Linked DNA regions of Homo sapiens: regions 1 and 2 are each linked to region 3. The links are contacts of gene promoters, found by promoter capture Hi-C in blood cells and fetal thymus (Javierre and others, 2016). All regions are on one chromosome and are shown on one strand. Each heading gives the region's core, a stretch centred on a gene start or on the middle of the fragment in contact. The rest is flanking DNA. Distances are from core to core; before and after follow the strand shown.

Evidence for each region. Contacts are between HindIII fragments. The CHiCAGO score rates a contact against its expected background, and 5 or more counts as called.
Region 1: a contact is called between the fragment with the promoter of PIMREG here and the fragment with the promoter of C1QBP in region 3, in 5 of 17 cell types (M2 macrophages, M0 macrophages, M1 macrophages and 2 more). The highest score is 9.3, in M2 macrophages.
Region 2: a contact is called between a fragment that was not itself captured here and the fragment with the promoter of C1QBP in region 3, in 1 of 17 cell types (M0 macrophages). The highest score is 5.1, in M0 macrophages.

Annotation. Positions count from the first base shown.
Region 1 is chr17:6,443,035-6,445,734 of GRCh38, forward strand. PIMREG (PICALM interacting mitotic regulator) reads left to right here and starts at 1,421. Exons shown (of 6, transcript NM_019013.3): 1 at 1,421-1,454; 2 at 2,042-2,370. The coding sequence starts at 2,077. All of the region lies in intron 2 of LOC107985017 (a long non-coding RNA gene), which reads right to left. RefSeq lists silencers at 731-880, 1,111-1,360, 1,443-1,670 and an enhancer at 801-1,379. The HindIII fragment of the contact is 3,587 bases long and covers 1-2,669 here.
Region 2 is chr17:6,622,081-6,624,780 of GRCh38, forward strand. It overlaps KIAA0753, which reads right to left. Exons shown (of 19, transcript NM_014804.3): 4 at 2,675-2,700; 5 at 1,429-1,491; 6 at 802-1,017. Among named protein-coding and RNA genes, the nearest start is that of KIAA0753, 17 kb to the right of the region's middle. The HindIII fragment of the contact is 1,536 bases long and covers 683-2,218 here.
Region 3 is chr17:5,437,881-5,440,580 of GRCh38, forward strand. C1QBP (complement C1q binding protein) reads right to left here and starts at 1,275. Exons shown (of 6, transcript NM_001212.4): 1 at 962-1,275; 2 at 243-393. The coding sequence starts at 1,193. RefSeq lists silencers at 942-991, 1,102-1,271, 1,250-1,432 and an enhancer at 1,492-1,671. The HindIII fragment of the contact is 1,457 bases long and covers 383-1,839 here.

The DNA of each region.
Region 1 (2,700 bases), core at 171-2,670, 1.0 Mb after region 3:
TAGCCAGGAACGGTGGCTCACGTCTGTAATCCCAGCAGTTTGGGAGGCTGAGGCGGGTGGATTGCCTAAGGTCAGGAGTTCGAGACCAGCCTGGCCAACATAGTGAAACCCCATCTCTACTAAAAATACAAAAAATTAGCTAGGCGTGGTGGCAGGCACCTGTAATCCCAGCTACTAGGGAGGCTGAGGCAGGAGAATCGCTTGAACCTGGGAGGCGGAGGTTGCAGTGAGCCGAGATCATGCCATTGCACTCCAGCCTGGGCAACAAGAGTGAAATTCCGTCTCAAAAACAAACAAAAAATGCCACCGATATATGAATTTGGGCATTACATTTCCAACATGTGAAATTTGAGGGACACATTCAAACCATAGCAGAGGATCAAGTAAGTTAATAAACTGCAACACCGGTACCTGTGCATACTAAGTGCCATATACACGTTAATCATTATCATCATCCTTTCCTTGGAAATCACTGAGGCCAAAGGAGTGGGTGAGACCACCCAGAAACGGAGAGGGCTGAAGACAGAGTCTCAAGAAGCCATCATCTCAGGCTCTTGTGCGGAGAAGTAACAAAGAAACCAGCCGGGGGAGTGGGCAGCACTGCTCTGAGGTCACCGAAAGGAGAAAGATGAGCTGGAGAGAGCTTTATAATGGCTGCATTTGTTTGGATGCTAAGGAGAAGAGAGGCAGGCATTCCGCTGGAGAGAGGGAGGGATGCGTGGGGCAAGGCGGGGGCGGGGAGCCGGTGTAGACGGGTGGAGGGCAGACCGGTACTCTGGTCTATCCCCGCTTCCGGGACGCGTTTTCTAGGGAGGGCGGAGCGTGGATGGCGAGTATGGGGAACTCAGAGAGGGACAGTGTCTTGTCACAGGAAGGGAGGGTCAGGAGGGAAATTTGAAAGAAAACGTCTCTGGGAACCCAGGGCTCTGCACTGCCAGTCCCTGGCTCCTTCTGACAAAACCACTGAGCAAGAAGGAAAAGCCAGACCCCTTGGCAGGATGAGAGGGGTCTCTGCCCGCTGCCGGGCCTGGGGCCTGGGGCCTGAGCCAGGAGGCCTAGGTCCCAGGACCTCCGCCTCCACCCCATGGGTCAGAGCAGCCTGAACCCTGTGCGCGCTCCAGGGAGGGGACCCGGTGTGCGATGCGCGGGGGCTGGGCTAGCAAGGGCAGTGGCGCGAGCGGGACGCAGGATACAAAGCCCGGAGCCACGAGGCTGGCGGCGGGGCGGGGGCCGGAGCGATGAATGGGCACGGCCGGGCCAATCCAAGCGCAGCATTTGCAGCCGCGAGAGAGGGAGCCAATCGGATCCCCGGGGCGGTGGCGGTGGCGGGGGCGGGGACGGAACCAATCAGCTGTGAGGACGGGGCCGGGGGCGGAGCCGCGCAGAGTTTCAAATCGGCTGCGGTGGGCGAGGAGCAGCTGTGCTGCGGCTGTGCTCGGCCTTAGTGGTGTCGGGTGAGTGCGGGCTGGGCACAAGTTTCGCCCTTGTTGCCCAGGCTGGAGTGCAATGGCGCGATCTGGACTCAAAACAATTTTTTTGTTCGGAGGGGAGGGCATCAGGTTCTGTTCACAGGGGAGGGCATCAGGTTCGGACACGCACGGCCTGTGGGGTCGTCTGGGTACCACAAGAAGTCGGATCGAAATCGGGGCGTCTGGTGGGAAGGCCGGGGTCTGGGCGGGTGCGCGTTTGGTCTGGGCGAGCTGGTGAAGAAGATGGTGATCGTGTCCTGGGCCCAGCGCTGAAGCTCGGCTACGGCGTGTCTTGACCCTGCCTCCCCTCCTCGCCTGAGCCAGAGAGAGGAAGGAGGTTGGGATGAAAAGACAGCTGTTTTGGAAACTTGAAGGGCGGGACATCAGAAATGCTGCTGACCCGAGGCCCCTCTTCCAGGAAGCATCCTCCTTCCTGCACCCACACTTACCAACTCGCCCGCCCCCGCCACCCCGCTGCATCCCGTCTCTTCCCCTGTGTCCAGGGTCTCTGTGGGGCCTGGGAATGGGTATGGGGAATGCCTTGCTGATCTGCCTTTCGCCCTCCTCCCCAGGGTCTAGTGGACAGAGAAGACTCTTGGCCAGGCAGATGGCTTCTCGGTGGCAGAACATGGGGACCTCCGTGCGCCGGAGATCTCTCCAGCACCAGGAGCAGCTGGAGGACAGCAAGGAGCTGCAGCCTGTGGTCAGCCATCAGGAGACCTCTGTAGGGGCCCTGGGGTCCCTGTGCAGACAGTTCCAAAGGAGGCTGCCCCTGAGAGCCGTCAACCTCAACCTCCGCGCAGGGCCCTCCTGGAAACGCCTGGAAACCCCAGAGCCAGGTCAGCAGGGCCTCCAGGCTGCAGCTCGCTCAGCTAAGAGTGCTTTGGGTGCCGTGTCCCAGGTAATACTGACAACACTAATCATCTTTTTTATGGAGTGTTTCCTTGGTGCCAGGCAGTTCCTGCCCTCAAAGAGCCTCAAGAATATAGACTTCATGAAAACAGGGACGTTGGTTAGTTCACTGCTGTTTCCCCACCACCCCAGATAGTTCCTGGCACATATAGGTGCTCAACAAATAGTTGAATGAGTGAATGAAAGCATGTCTTGGAGGAAACAGATGCTCACAATACCAGGTGATAAGAGCTGTACGTGATAGGAAATTGCAAAGCAAGTGACCAATAGTGAGGCTCACCAAATGCAAGCTTAGTCGGTGAAGGCTTCCCAGAGGAGG
Region 2 (2,700 bases), core at 201-2,700, 1.2 Mb after region 3:
TAACAGCTTACTCTGCCATGCTAACATAAAGATCACCTTTCTATTTGTGGATGAAAATGTATGGCGTAGGGGAACTAATACTAGCATGGGAGTCAGAAAATAGAATTTGATGCCTAGCTCTCAAGAAAAATAACTGTCATCTCTCCGATGTTTGCTTTTCTAAAAAAATTTAACCTGTACAACAGCAGTAAAACCCATTGCAAAGCATACTGCCATAGAAAGGGTCAAATGGCATAATTACATGGAAACACCATGCAAACTTCAGAGAGCTATAAAATTAATGTGTCTTTGTCACCAATGAAAACTAAGAACACTATCAATTCCTGTCTAATACATGCCAGCTGTGATTTCTAGACGTCTCTAGCTATATCACAAGATTTGAGGCTCTGATTCCATATACTGTACCTTTAAGTGTTTCTTCTTTTCCAAAATCCATCTAAATTAAACACTGATATTCTAATCTAAGAATGCTTTACTGGTTTCCTTTTCTATGCTAATAAATTTTTTTCTCAAATGGCATGGGCCAGGGAATGGGACATTCTGTTTAGTTAATGAACCTGGTTTAAAGTTGTTACATGTTTTATATTCAAGTTACCAATTTTCGAAGCAGTGAAATACGATAATACAGACTACACTGTAAAAATAGCAAAACAAAAAGAAGTGTTTCTTCTGCCCTCTGCAAAGCTTTAATTCACTAGGTAATGGCTTTGTCTTGTATTCTCCATAAATCCTAACGAAACTAGGTAATAGTAAGCATTACTTCCAATGCACCTCTAACAAAAATTGGAATTAATTCCATACCTCAATTTGTTGCAGAATATCTATAACCACATCAGGAACAGAAGGGTCTGCATCCAGCTTGACAGAACAAAGTGAAAGCTGGCGAATAAGGCTGCCCAGTTCCTTACACCGAGCAGGAAGTGGATGCTCCCCTCGGTCAGTAAACTGAGTGACAAACATCTGTAAGGCCCGAATGGCTCCTCGATGGGCAGCCGCCAGCTTAGACATTGCCCATGACTGGTAATAAACAAGATGAGAGAAGTTATTTCCATACTCAGAACTTGCTAACATTCACCCAACTTCTAAGAATATTTATAGCCTGTCTTCTTTCTGTATAAAGTGCTTTCTATTGTGAAAACTTTTTCATAGTAAAGGGAGTTGTAAAGTTTAAAGTTTTCTAGTGGCAGTCTTTTCCTTACTACTTCCAATTTTTTATACCAGCAGCAACAACAACAAAAATCTATTTTTTAGAACCTGTTCCTTAGAAGGCAACCATATTCAGAATATGTAAGGTGCTCACTCCCTCACTAACAGGTTTCTGCAAGTACTGAAAATAACATTAGTGCAGAGGGCCCTACACAATACTAACAAAACACTGGGAAATGTCATTTATAAGCAAGTATTGATCATAATTTAATTGCAGCATACCTTCTTAGTGTGTTTAATTTTATGTGGACTCAATTTATCCAATTCTTCCTGGATTTCTTTTACCTGTTTTGTAAAGGGGAAAAAAGAAAACTTCATACCTTTCCATTGATCTTTTTTGTAGAAAAGGATGCATCGATATATCTCCTCTTGTCCAAATATAACCATTATTAATTCAAGTCACTTGAAAATGAAAAAAAGGCTCTTCATTCATGCACCCAAAAAACAGTTACTGGTTTCCAGTTCAAGATAGTGAATAGGCAGTGTTCACCTTCCATCCCTTCGTCCCCAGTGTAATAGGAATTTAGCATGAAGGAGTGAAGGTGGAGGTGACTCTGGAAATGTAGGCGGGCCGGATCGTGAAGTCTTACATGCCACGCTGAAGAGTTTAGCTTTCATCCTCTAAGTTACAGAGAGCCACTAAAGTCTTTTAAGCAGAGGTCTGACATGGTAAGATTCATGTTTTAGAGCAATCTCTACGGCAGCAGTGTAGAATAAGAACTGAAATAGAACCCAAAAGAATACACTGCAAAACCTAACTCAGGCATTTTCTTTTAAATGAAAAAGTACAGCTTTTGGTTCAAGCAATAAAGGCTAACATGTGACTTCAGTGACCAGAAATGAGTAAAAGGCTTACTAATGTATAAGGCATGAAAGTCACAACAAACACTTTTTAAAAATCCATCACAATGTAAAGAACGTAAATGCCTGTGTATCCGCTACTAAAGATGTCCTCAAAGACACTTAACATGGTCTTTACTCTTTGCTGTTTACCAAATTATTTACTATTACAAGCTTCTATACATTATAAACATGAAATAGATGGGAAACTAACAAGGTCCCTTTCCTCTAAGACTGGGGTCCATAGCTAGGACCAAGGGTTCAGGGTAACTGATCCACCTGACTTCCCATGCAAAAATATGTGCTATATAATGTATAAGCATCTTGGGGGTGGGGAGGAGTGGCTTTTAATAGATTCTCAAAGGTCTATGACCTCATAAAGTCAAGAACCAGTTTAAGGAGTTTGGCGCCACACACACACACACACACACACACACACACACACGCAGATTACAAAAAGAAAGAGAATTATTTGCCCATGTGTTCAGGTAATTGAGCCTCACAAATCTGTCAGAACTCATATGGGATACTCTAGTGCTAATCTTTCTGAGACAAAAGGAAAACAGAAACTCTCTAAGGAAGCAGTACACAAGGCTGACTGCCCTACTTCTCCCTGAACTTTTCACACCTGCTGCTGGAGGACGTAGAGCATTC
Region 3 (2,700 bases), core at 25-2,524:
ATTCTGCCAGTACTTTTTTGCACTACATTTTTGTCTCCTTAGTAACCAGCCCACAGCAAATTTGTGTTCGGTGAATGGACTGCCTGGGGCTTACGAAGTTGTCCAAATGAATCCTTCACTCTCTTGAAACCCATTTATCAAAGTATCCACACCTGAACTCAAGGCTCTTCTGGGGATGACCCAGGATGGGTCCTGCAAGGTTAAGGGAGTTGCTGCCCTGGGATCCCCAGACCAGTACTTACTTTTCCCCGGCAACTTTCCGCACTAATTTCGCTTCTGTCCCATTCAGTTCCAGCTCCCAACCTCCAGACATCTTAGGGAGGGTTTTATGCTTCTGAATTTTTCTTTCCTCCTTAATTTCATCACTCAGGAAATCAACAAAAGCTTTGTCTCCTAGAAAAGAAATCCAGATACATAAAAAGGAAAGCCAGTTAGTCTAAAACATAAAACTATTACCCAGGTTATTGCAGCCAGAAACCTGGACTGTTTCTAATCTCTCTGCTATTACGGTTACTCTAGAAGCCTGTTTCCTTATCGGTAAAAATACCATAATAGTAGTAGGAAGCTGAGCCTGATTCTGGAAAAGTGATTTCCAACAATGAACGCATTACCACTTTCCGCTATAAACCAGGAGAATTTCCAATCCTCTTCCACTTGCCAAACGATATAACTATGCTATTTTCAACCACGACCATGGGCCTTCCCAAAGGTCCACTTTCGATAGAATAAGACTAAGGAAAAAGGTACCCTAGTATTTAATTTTATTCACCCCCTACCAAAAGAAAACGAAACTGCTGGATAGGGGAGGTGGGGGAAATATGATCATACGTGGGTTTAGCCCGCTGGTTGCCAATCAATGGAAAAATGTCCCAGACCTCAGAGGTCGGTTGCAGGCCCTATTCCTGGTCTACGTTTTCCCTCTGTTGAACGCAAACCACACCCCCGGCCCGCTAAACCTCACCGTCGGTGTGCAGCGAGCCGCAGCCACAGCCACAGGCGCAGGGTCCGCGAGGCCGCAGGAGGCCCGGCCGCCGCTCGGAACCTGCGCGCACGCTGAGCAGCCCGAAGGGCCGGGTGCACAGCCGGGGTGCCGGCTGCAGGAGCTGCCGGAAAGGCGAGGCGGGCGCGGCAGCGCGGAGGCCGGCGACGGAGGAGCCCAGCACACGGGGCACGCAGCGCAGCAGAGGCAGCATCGCGGAAACGACTGCGAACACGTGCAGATGCAAAGGACAACCCAGGCCTAGGCGCCCCGCGACCTGAGGCGCCGCCGGAAGCCCCGCCCCTGCCCGGAAGCGCTTCCCGCGCCGGCGCTCTGACGACCTAAGGCCAGCGGGCGGAATCGCGCCCTCTGCTGGAGACTCCGGTGCAGCCCGGGAAGCCTCGAATCCGGATTCCGGAGCTTTCTTGCTGCGCTGCCGAGTCCGCTGTCCGAAGCTGTTTAATTCCCTCTAGTGGCCGCTTACCCACTTTCCACCTGCTGTTCTCAAAGCACGCAAGGCTTTTGGGCTGCGTGGAATGCACTCTTGTCTCCCGCCAGCTCTCACCAGACCCTTCCACGGTCACTTTCCTCTAGGAGGCTGTGGTGTTATGATATATATATGTATTGGTTTTCATCCACAGTTCCTGGGTCGTAACTCCTATAGCCCTTGTTACAATGTTCTGTGATAATGTTGGGTGTGTTAGGCCTCAGGAAACAGACTCTCCCCTTCTCCTGCCCTCCTTTTACCTGCCCCAAAGCAGGACTCTAATCTCCTTCCACATTTCTGATTATGGGTCTTAAGTCCCTTCCCAGAGAAGGTCCCACCATATACCCTGGGGGAAGGGATGCTGATGTCCAGAAGCTTCCATAAAAACCCAAGAGGAGAGGGTTTGCAGAGCCTCTGACAGCTGAATACGTAGAGGTTCCTGGAGGGTGGTGGCCCAGGGTAGGCAAGGAACCTCGGAGCTTCTTCCCCATTCCCCACCCTGCTCATCTCATCTGTATCCTTGGTCATATCCTTTATATGAAACCGGTGAATGTGTTTCCCTGAGTTCTGTGAACTGCTCCAGTGAGTTAACATAATCCAAAGAGGGGGGTCGTGGGAACCCCAACTTGAAGCGGGTTGGTCGGAAGTTTCAGAGGCCCAGACTTGCCATTGCTGTCTGAAGGTGGGGGCGGTCTTGGGGACTGAGCCCTCAACCTATGGGATCTGACACTATCTCCAGGTAGATACTGTTGGGATTGAATTGGAGGACACCCAGCTGGTGTCTGCTGCTTAGTGTGGAGGGGAAAAACCCAAACCTTTGGCCACATAAGTCTTCTGTGTTGATTGTTGTGTTGTGAGAGCAAAGGAAAGTCTGAGGGTTTTCCTGAAAGAGGCCTTCTAGAACCTTTTTTTCCACCGGCTCGGAACTCATGCTTGTGCGCACCCAGCCCATATGCTTCATTCTCTTTTCAACAGGAACCTCCTAGCGTTGCTGCTTTAACCAGGTTAAACCCAACCAGACTGTGACATCCTCAAGGGCAGGATCCATGATTAATTTTTGTGACCTTCCCTCTCTGCACCTCCAACCTTGCATCCAAGTTCTAATGGAACATCATTTTTCTGGGGACAAGAAGCCAGCTTATATCATTTAGATAAGTCCAGAGGCTTCCATAAAAACCCGAGGACAGGGTTTGGAGAGCCTCTGATAGCTAAATACATGGAGGTTCCTGGAGGG